Linked DNA regions of Homo sapiens: region 2 is linked to region 1. Evidence: promoter capture Hi-C in human tissues and cell types (Jung and others, 2019). All regions are on one chromosome and are shown on one strand. Each heading gives the region's core, a stretch centred on a gene start or on the middle of the fragment in contact. The rest is flanking DNA. Distances are from core to core; before and after follow the strand shown. Region 1 holds the start of ANKRD16 (ankyrin repeat domain 16). Region 2 has its middle 13 kb from the start of SFMBT2.

Region 1 (5,110 bases), core at 1,522-4,021:
TCTTTAAACTCTACAACAACCCTGAGACATACCATCACTGACATTATTATTTGGTTGATGAGGAAACTTGCTCAAGAGAGAGACTAATTTCCTTACCCAAGGTCAAAGACTATGTGCTACAGAACCAGCTCATGGGCAAATAATCTAGGGAGGATAACACAGATACACACGAAAAATAAATTAATACCACAGCATGCTAGCCAAGTTATGTTAACTTTAGAAATTGATTATATGCCAAAAGGCCCCTAGATGCTTTTTTTTTTTTTTTGAGATGGAGTTTTGCTCTTGTTGCCCAGGCTGTAGTGTAATGTAGTGCAATCTTGGCTTAGTACAACCTCTGCCTCCTGGGTTCAAGCCATTCTCCTGCCTCAGACTCTGGAGCTCCCCAGTAGCTGGGATTACAAGCAGCCGCCACCACGCCCGGCTAATTTTTTGTATTTTTAGTAGAGACGGCGTTTCACCATGTTGGCCAGGCTGGTCTTGAACGCCTGACCTCAGGTGATCCACCCGCCTCCGGCCTCCCAAAGTGCTGGGATTACAGGCGTGAGCCACTGCACCCGCGCCCCCGCCCCCACCCCCTCCCCCCCAGATGTTCTTATTCTCTGCCTTCTGTTTTCCAAAATCCTCCTTTCCCCTGAAGGTGACCTGAACAAGATGCGGTTGGGCAGTGCTGGGTGAAGCAGCCACATGTGTGTACTGCTCACCTGCAGAGCTGTAGGCTGTACCTGCAGTATGCAGAGGAGTCCTTCTAATTTTGCTCTCTGTCTTCCAGGCACCTGGGCAAACAGTGAGCAGGTACTGGAGGATCAGAGGGTCGCCTTCTCGACTGGCAATGTGGAAACTGTTCCAGCCATCTTTGTTCTTCAGGAGTGGATTGGCGCCATGTTCCACCAGCTCCTGGATCACCCCCAGGTTCTTCCTTGTGCAGGCCATCATCAGAGGAGTCCTAAGGCCAACCAGGAGAAGCTGTCAGATGGAGGCAGCTGAGACATTAGAAGCCAGGGGCCAGGTCTTCAAAACACACACATCCTTGGCACAGATGGAAAACCTAGAGGATTCAGGGGTCTGGCAGGCAGGAAAACAGCTTTGACCGGCAACCTCTGTGCCTTCTGTGAGGACCCTGGGAGAAATAATAAGGGGAAAATGATTGTAACGAACGTGTACCTAGAGGAGAGGGTGCCTGGGAGACAAAGCAGCTTATAAGCTAGTTCACAGGATAGCAGTGAATTGGAGCAGAGCTAAGAAAACCCACAGACAACCCTCAACACATAACGAAGTCTATTCCCCTGCCCCAGTGGGGAAGATGTACTTCCCTATGTTCCTAAAGATGTTCACGCCCTCTAACGAACCTGACCTAGTGAGTACTAAAATCAGTGTCAATCTAACAAACGAAATGCAATTGGCTTGTGTGATGGTGGAGCAGAGTATCTCTGACTGTGGTGGTTATGCAAGGCTGCACGTATGTGATACAACTGCACTGTGCTCTACACACACGAGCGCGTGTATAACTCAGGAATTCTGGATATTGATTGGAGCAATGCCACTTGAAACAATGCATTGGTGCAGAAGTAACTTAGCTAAATGTCCCCAGAACATCGCATCCGGAGGCTATCTGTATAGTGCACACACTTCATTGTTTGGTAACATTCTCTTTGGTTATATTCTACACTATTCCGTGCTCTAGAAAGGGAGGTGACTGCCCCGACCAGTTAACCCACAAGGGCAGGAACGAGGGACTCTGCAGGTCATCTGCGTTATAAGGGAAAGTTGGGCAGGAGGTCCCTGCCGCTGAGCAGGCCTGGGGTGAGAACTAGGAGCTGAGAACAGCTACGGTGTCCAAGGGGACGGAGAAGCACAGGGAACTCGCTACGACTCTGCGAGTAGAGGGGAGGCGGGGTGTCTTTCCGCTCCACACCTACCAGTCGGCCTTCTTCAGGCAGTCGACCGCTGCCCCCCGGCCCAGCAGGTAGCGCACGCAGTCTCGGTGGCCCATGGAGGCCGCCTCGTGCAGAGGCCGCTTGTAGTCTCGGTTGGTGGCCTCGATGTCCATGCCCCAGGCCTCGGCCAGATAGGCCAGCACGTCCCGATGCCCGTGGCGCGCGGCGCAGTGCAGGAGGGTATCCCCGGCCGGCCCCGGGCAGCCCCCGGCCGCCTGCAGCTCCTCCTTCAGGGCGCGCAGCCGGCCCTCCTGCACCAGCCTGCAGAGGCGCCGCGGGTCCCCGGGCTGGGCCATCGCCGCGGGTCGGGCCGGGCTGCGCGGGGAGGCGGCGGGCGGGACACCGGCGGCCGGGCAGGGAGAAGCCGAGGGCGAGTGGGACTTTCCGCCTCTTCACGCAACCTGCCCCGCGCGCCCCGAACCCGGCAGAACCGCCCCTCACGCCCCCGGCTTTGTCCCCGGCAGAGCCGCCTCCTCAAACCCCCGGCCTAGTCCGCAGGCGGGCTGCCCCCTCACAGCCCCGGCCTGCCCCGCGTGGGAGAAGCCGCGGTTCCGGGCACGGGGCGGTTTTTCCTCAGGGACGGAGCGGTCCGGGATGAGCACGGAGGGGCCTGGGGATCCGAGAGCGCTGGCGTCCGCCGTCCTGGAGCTGCAGCGGCCCGTACGTGATTCGGGACTGAACACGTAAGGGAGTGGGGCGCGCCGCTACACCGCAAAGCCCCAAAGTGGAGGGTCCGGGAGGGCGCGCACAGCCTCGCCCGGCGCCGTGCAGGGTGGCTCCTGAGGCAGCCAGGCCCAAGCGTGACCTGCCCCGCACGCGTCCTCAGGGCCGCCCCAGCCTCCAGCCCCTGGGGGCCGGCGTTCCTGGGCTCCGCCCCCGTCCCCGCCCCTCGACCGCCGCTGCTCCGCGGGGACTCGGGGAGCTCGAAGGAACTCTGGGAAAGTTTCCCGCTCCGCCCCGGCCCGAGCGGAAGCGCGGATGGGGCGTGGCCCGGTAGCTGTGGCCGCGCCCCCACCGATTGCGCATTTCGATTGGCGTTAGTGGCCGTCCGTCAGCACGCCCCCTCCGGTCTCGCGTCCCGATTGGTCGCGGGGGCCGTCAGTCCGGCTCCGGCGGCGGGCGCTTCCCGGGGCTGCGGCGGGGCGGAGCTCGCGGAGGAAGTCGGCGGGCGTCTCGGGCTCCAGGTCCCGGCCAGAGGAGGAGCTCGCTGCCGGGGGACGCTGGGCTGAGCGGCCGGCGGCGCGGGCCCGGCGGCGGCGGCAGCGGGGTCCGGGTCCGGAGCGCCACAGTGCGTGAGGCCGCAGACGTGGCAGGGAGTGTGGGAGGGGCTCCGCCGTGTGGAAAACTTAACCTCCGGGGTCCTGCGCGGGGGGTCCGGGCCCGGGGTGGGGCAGCGGGGGCCCCGGGGGCGCGAGGCTGGGCTCGGGCAAGCGCGGGCGTGGGGGCTCGGCCGTCCGGGCCGTGGGCAGGTGGAGGGCGCGGCGGGGGTGCGCGGGGGAGGCCAGGGCGCTCACTGAACTCGGTCGGGAGCGGCCCCCGCGCTGCCCCCCGAGGCCAGGAAGGCGCAGCGTGTGGGTCCTCGGGGCTGAAGGGGCAAGCGCGGGGACGTGGCCTCGGCTGCTAGGAGGCCAGGCTTTCCCGTCTACTCTGACGTTTTGACCTTGGGCAAGTCATTTTTCGCTGCCCTCTGCCCCTGTGTCATCGGTAGCTTCTCTGCCCCTCCTCTGAGCATGGGAAGCCTAAGGCGATGTGGGAGGCCTGGCGCTGGTGGAGGGCACGGCGAGAGCTGGGCAGGCTGTGGGTGATGGAAGAGATCAGTAGGTGTTGGGTTCCTTACCCGATCTGATTAGGTGCCAGTCACTTAACCTCTCCATGTTTTCGATTCCTTTAGGGAGTAGAATGGGAGTAGCTCCTATTTGCCAGGCCTAAAAACGAGTGCCGTTTACATTTTTTATTGCAGTCTGTGGTCCGAAGACAACCCTATGAGGCATCAGTAGGGTTTTACAGGTGGGGAAGTGGAGGCCTAACCAAGTCAGTGACTTTCTTACAGAATTACAGGTAATAAAGTCTTCTGGAAGGCAGGATGGTAGCATGTGTTGAGTGTCCGCCAGCGTCTGCCGCTGTGGTAAAATGAGCGGAGATAAATGAAAAGACTTCTGGAATGGGCCCATGAAGATAAGTCCGTTTTACTCATGAGCAGATTGAGTTTGGTTAAGGTAACAGTGATGTGGATAGCCTCTGGAGACAGAACTAGTCCAAGTACCAGCTTTGCTCAGGTTATTGTTCTGTCGTGCCTTGTCACTCCAGCAAAAGAAAAAAAGGAAGGCATAAAAGTTGTTTGAAATGCACAAAAGTGTAGGGCGTGCCAAGCAGTGTTCTGCTGCCGTTGAAGTTAGTGCAAATTGGAAGTTGAGGCATCTGGTAGCTTCATGCTTTTTGCTTTTACCCCTGCCCCTCTCCCAGTTTCAGATGACTATCTTCTCTTGCATTATGTCTCTAGTTTCCCTGTTTTTTAAACATAATTGGGACACACGGGTTCACAGTAGGTTGGAATATATATATATATTTTGAGACAGAGTCTCGCTCTGTTGCTCCGGGTGGAGTGCAGTGGCACGATCTCGGCTCACTGCAACCTCCCCCTCCCGGGTTCAAGCAATTCTCCTGCCTCAGCCTCCCGAGTAGCTGGGATTACAGGCGTGTGCCACCATGCTCGGCTAATTTTTTTGTATTTTTAGTAGAGACGGGGTTTCACCATGTTGGCCAGGCTGGTCTTTAAACTCCTGGCCTCAAGTAATTCACCCAGCTCGGCCTCCCAAATGCTGGGATTACAGGCGTGAGCCACCGTGCCTAGCCAGGTTGGAATATTTGAACCCAGGATAATTGGTTACTTCATTGGTGTTGCACATTCGATTCTGCCTCTTGTGTCTTCTCTATGAACCTTCTTTGCTCTGTATCCCCCTTTGGATAACTAAATGATAATGTATGTGAATCTGTCCCGCAGCTCCTGTGATTTTCTGGGCAAAAGCTTGGTCTAGAGGGGCGGGATCTGAACAGTAAGCTAATGGATGGAGCTGTTTCCTGGGTCTTGCTGTTTTCCGGTTGGGCTGCTCATTTCTTTCGTGCAGACTTTTGGAGGTTGTGGTCTGGCCTTTACAGTCACGTCACATGTAGTC
Region 2 (5,110 bases), core at 684-3,183, 1.5 Mb after region 1:
GCTGATTCATAAGATATTAAAAGGCCTTGAGTCATATTGTACTCATTGAAAACAAAGCCTTCACATATACCAATGCTTTATTACTTTCATGAAACTTAATCTTTGTCAAACCCTGAAAGGATAGCTAATTTTACTGACCAATTTGAAAAGCAGACAATGGGAGTGAGAGCATATTCCTAAACAAATTGTTATAAATTTACACGAAGCCAGGCATGGTGGCTTGCATCTGTAATCCCAGCTACCTGGGAGGCTGAGGCAGGAGGATCACTTGAGCCTCAGAGTTCGAGGCTTCAGTGAGCTGTGATTGTGCCACTGCACTAGGCCTGGGTGACACAGCAAGACCTCCATCTCTTAAAAAGAAATTCCTATGAAATGAGTAGTTATAGAATAATACTGCAGACCAGAGTAGTGAACAAAAGAATAAAGAATGAAGAGACCTGGATTCAAATCCCATGGTGCCCCTAAATAGATTATTTGCAAGTCAATGAATTTATCTGAACCTCAGATTGGCCATCTGTGAAATGGACATAATTATCTCTTACTGGCTGGGCATGGTGGCTCACACCTGTAATCCCAACACTTTGGGAGGCCGAAGCAGGCAGATCACTAGGTCAGGAGTTCAAGACCAGCCTGGCCAGCATAATAAGACCCCGTCTCTACTAAAAGTACAAAAATTACCCAGGCATGGTGGCTTGCACCTGTGATCCCAGCTACTCAGGAGGCTGAGGCAGGAGAATTGCATGAACCCGGGAGACGGAGGTTGCAGCGAGCCGAGATCACGCCACTATACTCCAGCCTGGGCGACAGAGTGAGACTCCATCTTAAAAAAAGAAAAGAAAAGAAATAACCTCTTACTTTATGGGATTGAGAGGAATTAGAAGGTTGCAATATGCCCAGTGACCAGAGCAGAGCATTGAGTTGGGTGCTAAAAAACATTTTTTTACACTCCCTTTAATAATAAAATAAGTTTCCAATTCTAGCCCATAGGAACAGGCTAACCTGGAATTCAGAAATGGAAGAGACTAGCAAAAGTCTCAAGACTCAAATTGAATCTTGATTCATGTGAATTTGGACAAACAACTTAATCTATTTTTGTCAAAGATAGTCCTCAGGAAAAGTGACACTGATAATGATGGTTACCTTGGTGCCTTCCTACCTGGGGCATGTTGTAAGACAATGCTATCATCGGGGTCATTGCGACTTATTACTGCTTTATTCCAATCATCGTGCTAGACACCATTTGCTTTTGTATGTGTTCTCTTGTTTCCAACTGCTTTGAGCTCTTAGGAAGTACAGAGCTACAGAACTTTAAGGTATGGCTGGCATTTCTCCTGAGTCTTTTGTTGGCATGCCTTTAGCATCTAAAGAAAAGGAGGAGAAGGAGAAGAAGCAGAAGAAAAGGAGGAGGGGGAGCAGGAGGATGAAGAAAGGAAAATTTGGAAAGCCAGGAAATTATTTGAGACAGAAATATCTCCATCTCTTTTTCTCTTGCCTCTAAATAGTATAAACCATGTTGAATGAGCCAATATTTTCCAGTTTAAAAAAATACCAGGTGTTTTTTTCTTCATTCCTTTTGCCAACTAAGAAAAAATGTTTAGCAATTTTTTAGTAGTGAAAAAATACATGTCTGAAAATTAGAACCTGAGTCTGATAGACCATAGTCATTGGTACATAGAATGAGCTCCACGAATGTTTGCAGAATTAGATCCTGGCTTTGGCATTGACCTGAAGGTAAACTACGTGGTGATACGTCTCCTTCTCTCCCTTTCTGTAAATGAGAGTGATAGTATCATGTGCACATTTCTGGAAAGATGGTATGAAAGTCATTACAGTTCCATTACGTTCTGAGCTTCTTGGACCAAAAGGGACAATGAAGATTTTGTTTTTTGAAAGCAAAGGTTGTTTATGCAGCTTCCGAGTGACTGACGTGCTCCACATATCCATTGTTTGCACTCCTGGGTTTATTTACTTTGAGTTTTGTCATTCTGGGACAGGAGGAGACATCCTGCTGGGGGGAAGCTGCAGGGGTGAGCTGCAGATGCTTTGAATAAGAAGGCTATTTTCATCGACTTAATTTTAGTGACATAAGAATCCGGGGGATGCTGGGGCTTGCCTGGAGACTCTCAAACTGGAGAACCCTGGGGGTAGAAGGAAAGATCTCAAAGTCGTTCTCATGGCCAACTCTGCAGCTTTGCCAGCTTCAACGAGCCATCCCAATGTGAACTGTGCTCAATATTCTTAATATTGCTGAATTGAGGGGGTAAACCCCAATACGGTCAGTGGCCCACTCCATCCCAGTTTTCTGCTCTGGTATTTCTTCACAGTATGTTATACCATATTCTTTTATTATCAGTCACTAAAGACAACTATCTTTTCTTTTTTTTATTGACCAATATATTTATAAACTGCCACACCAGTGACAACTATACTTTAGTAATAATTTCTGACAATTCTACTGCATTCTAGTCTTGTTTCGGTAAACAGATGGTGGTGCCCTATTCAACAGATGCTGCTGAGTGCTTTGGGCTCCACCTCCAAACACGCACTGAATTTTTGAGTTTTTACCTTTTGAGCACTGCTCCGCTCTAAACCAAGTCACCAAGCACCCCCAGACTCGGATGAGCTCATGGCAGGCACATCCTCACTGGGCTCCCTGAGTCTACTCTCACATCCTACCCTTGGTTCACGACACAGAGGCAAGAGGGTGAGCTCTCAAAAAGTGAGTCAGATCACACTAGTCCTGGCTCAAGACGCTGCAGTGGTTTCCCACCCGACGGGAGGTGGAGCTGAAGTCCTCGGCACGGCCTGTTTGCTTCTGCTACCCGCTTCCCCTCCAGCTGCTTTGTCTAGTAAACTTGCGCCCTGGCGCTGCTGGGGCGACTCCAGTCGAGGTCTAATGCTGTTCCTTGCACAGGCAGACTGTGCTCCTTTCTCAGAACCCTTGCATCTACTGCCTTCTGTCCCTGGGATACTCTTGCTCAAGATGCTGGCTTGCTTGTTCCTCTATCCCCTTCAGGTTTCAGCTTCTCCGATCACCCTATATTTGCAAACACTTCATCCCCCAGGGCCCTATACCCTGCTCTATTTTTCTGACTGATACTTATCATCACCAGTATCACGTTGCTTTTTCCTTATGAGTTCTGTCTCTCCCACTACAATAGTACCGTGAGAGTAGGGACTCTATCTTATTTCTAGCTGTATCCCCAACCCATAGAACATGATCTGGCTCACAGTAGATACTTAGTAAATATTTGTTGAATAAAAGAGGAAAGAAGTATCACAAACACAAAGCCTATCTCTGAATAAGGCTGACATGAATGTTTTGCATTAATGATAGATTTCATATAATCTGCATTTGTACACAAAGCAGGAACATATTCAAGTGCAACACGCCTTCAGAACACTTGAGTGAGAGGCGAGGGTGTGCATTGTGGTTTAGGAAGGCTCTTGTACATAAGCATGGGAGAAACGGAGAGATGTCTTGCAGTGAAACACTTTGCCTTATGAAAAAACAACCTCATTTGTTTGATCCTTGCCATGGTTCCAAAAAGGATTTGAGGCCAGAGTTGCAAATTGTCTTCCTTTTTCCCTTGACTTTCTATGCTTCCAAAAAAAGAAAAAAAAAGTGTTTTGAAGGACTTTTTGCTCTCAAATTTTTTAAAAATAGATTTCCAAGTAGATTGCAGGCATGATCCAAGCCTTGCCTCATTAGTTACCTTAATAGTCCTCTGATTATAATCCCACATTTATAAACCCGCACTTGTAGAGAGTGGATCCTTTAAAAACCCAGTGAATTCCATTAGGACTGACACATGCAGGAACCTCCAGGAGTTAAGGGTCACTGCTGGATGTCAGCTCAAACCTTCCCAGTAACTCTGCTCTATTGGAAGACCAGAGCTCAGCAGCAGGAGACACTCAACTTTCACTTGTTGCCCCGTTCAGTAAAAGCAAGATCCTAAATGAAAAACTGACCAACGTAAATAGCAAGAAACCAGCTTCCCATCCAACTCAGATGTAAGTAGCTTGATCTACATCTCAAGATGGTTGAAATGTAAGCCATGTTCCTACTCTTATTTTATAGGTCATTGTAAGTAGAGAGAAACAGGAGCATTGACTACACTAAAGATGACTACTACATAGATTAGTAAAATGTGATCATGTAAATTCTGCTAGTTAATGTCTAGTCTTTAGTAATTCTCCATGATCGCGTACAGTAATTCTACACAATTGGGTTTACATGGTGTCATGCAGGTAATGCTGAACCACAATTTAGGTTTGCATTCGCTTCCTGTTCAGCCTTTCATCGGCTCTATAAGCTTGAATGAAGGATTGAACCTCTTGCACTCCAAATTTCTTTGTATTAAAAAAGAGACAGAAAAAAACTAAAGTTGCCATTAGGCCTTATAAATCTAATAATTTCTATTTCACTCTCCTACTTAGATGCTAAGTGTCATCCAGGCTCAGAGATCTACAGAGCTATTCTGATCCCCTTCCAATTCTACCTACCCCCTTGCCATTAAGGAAAACATTAACTATGACATCAACATTAGCAGCGCATGAGTCCATTCTCAGAAATAACTCAAAGCTTCAAGAGTGGAGTAAGGGATTTCCTTCCAGAAAGCAGAGACACAAAAATGAAATTCAACCGGGAGCATCAACCATAGTTTATCTCCAAGACCCAATCTCATCCCTTCCACCATGTTCCTACCTGGCAATCTATAGATGATGCTGGAGGTAAACAACCCTCATCCCTTCCAGCCACGGGAGACAAGAGATATTATCCCTTTAGTTCCTACATATAAACCACAATGCACCTCTGTTCCATGGAGGGACACCTGGGGAGAAATGACTCATTTCTTTAGTCATTCTATGCCTTTTTTAAATTTCAACTTTGTAAGCATATCCGTTGCCCAGATATTGAACTTCTGTAAGTATTGTCTAAGAAAATAACAAGACAATTACATAAATATGCACGAATAAGGGTTTTCATCACAGAACTGTTGAAAATACTCACCTAGACAGGGTTGATTAAATCAACTAAAGTACCTGCACACAATAGGACATAATATGGGCATCATTACGAATGATGTTGTAGATATGTATTTTTTTG

The links. The method cuts DNA at HindIII sites, captures the fragments that hold promoters and counts their contacts. A contact is called where the count stands out against the background at its distance.
Region 2: a contact is called between a fragment that was not itself captured here and the fragment with the promoter of ANKRD16 in region 1, in 1 of the 25 tissues and cell types used here (dorsolateral prefrontal cortex).

Annotation. Positions count from the first base shown.
Region 1 is chr10:5,887,122-5,892,231 of GRCh38, forward strand. It overlaps ANKRD16 (ankyrin repeat domain 16), which reads right to left and starts at 2,772. Exons shown (of 8, transcript NM_019046.3): 1 at 1,920-2,772; 2 at 726-946. The coding sequence starts at 2,233. FBH1 (F-box DNA helicase 1) reads left to right here and starts at 3,122. Exons shown (of 21, transcript NM_178150.3): 1 at 3,122-3,225. The coding sequence starts at 3,225. RefSeq lists silencers at 2,055-2,334, 2,345-2,454, 2,595-3,314, 3,505-3,554. The HindIII fragment of the contact is 15,491 bases long and covers 1-5,110 here.
Region 2 is chr10:7,421,721-7,426,830 of GRCh38, forward strand. No RefSeq gene overlaps it. Among named protein-coding and RNA genes, the nearest start is that of SFMBT2, 13 kb to the left of the region's middle. The HindIII fragment of the contact is 5,034 bases long and covers 1-4,450 here.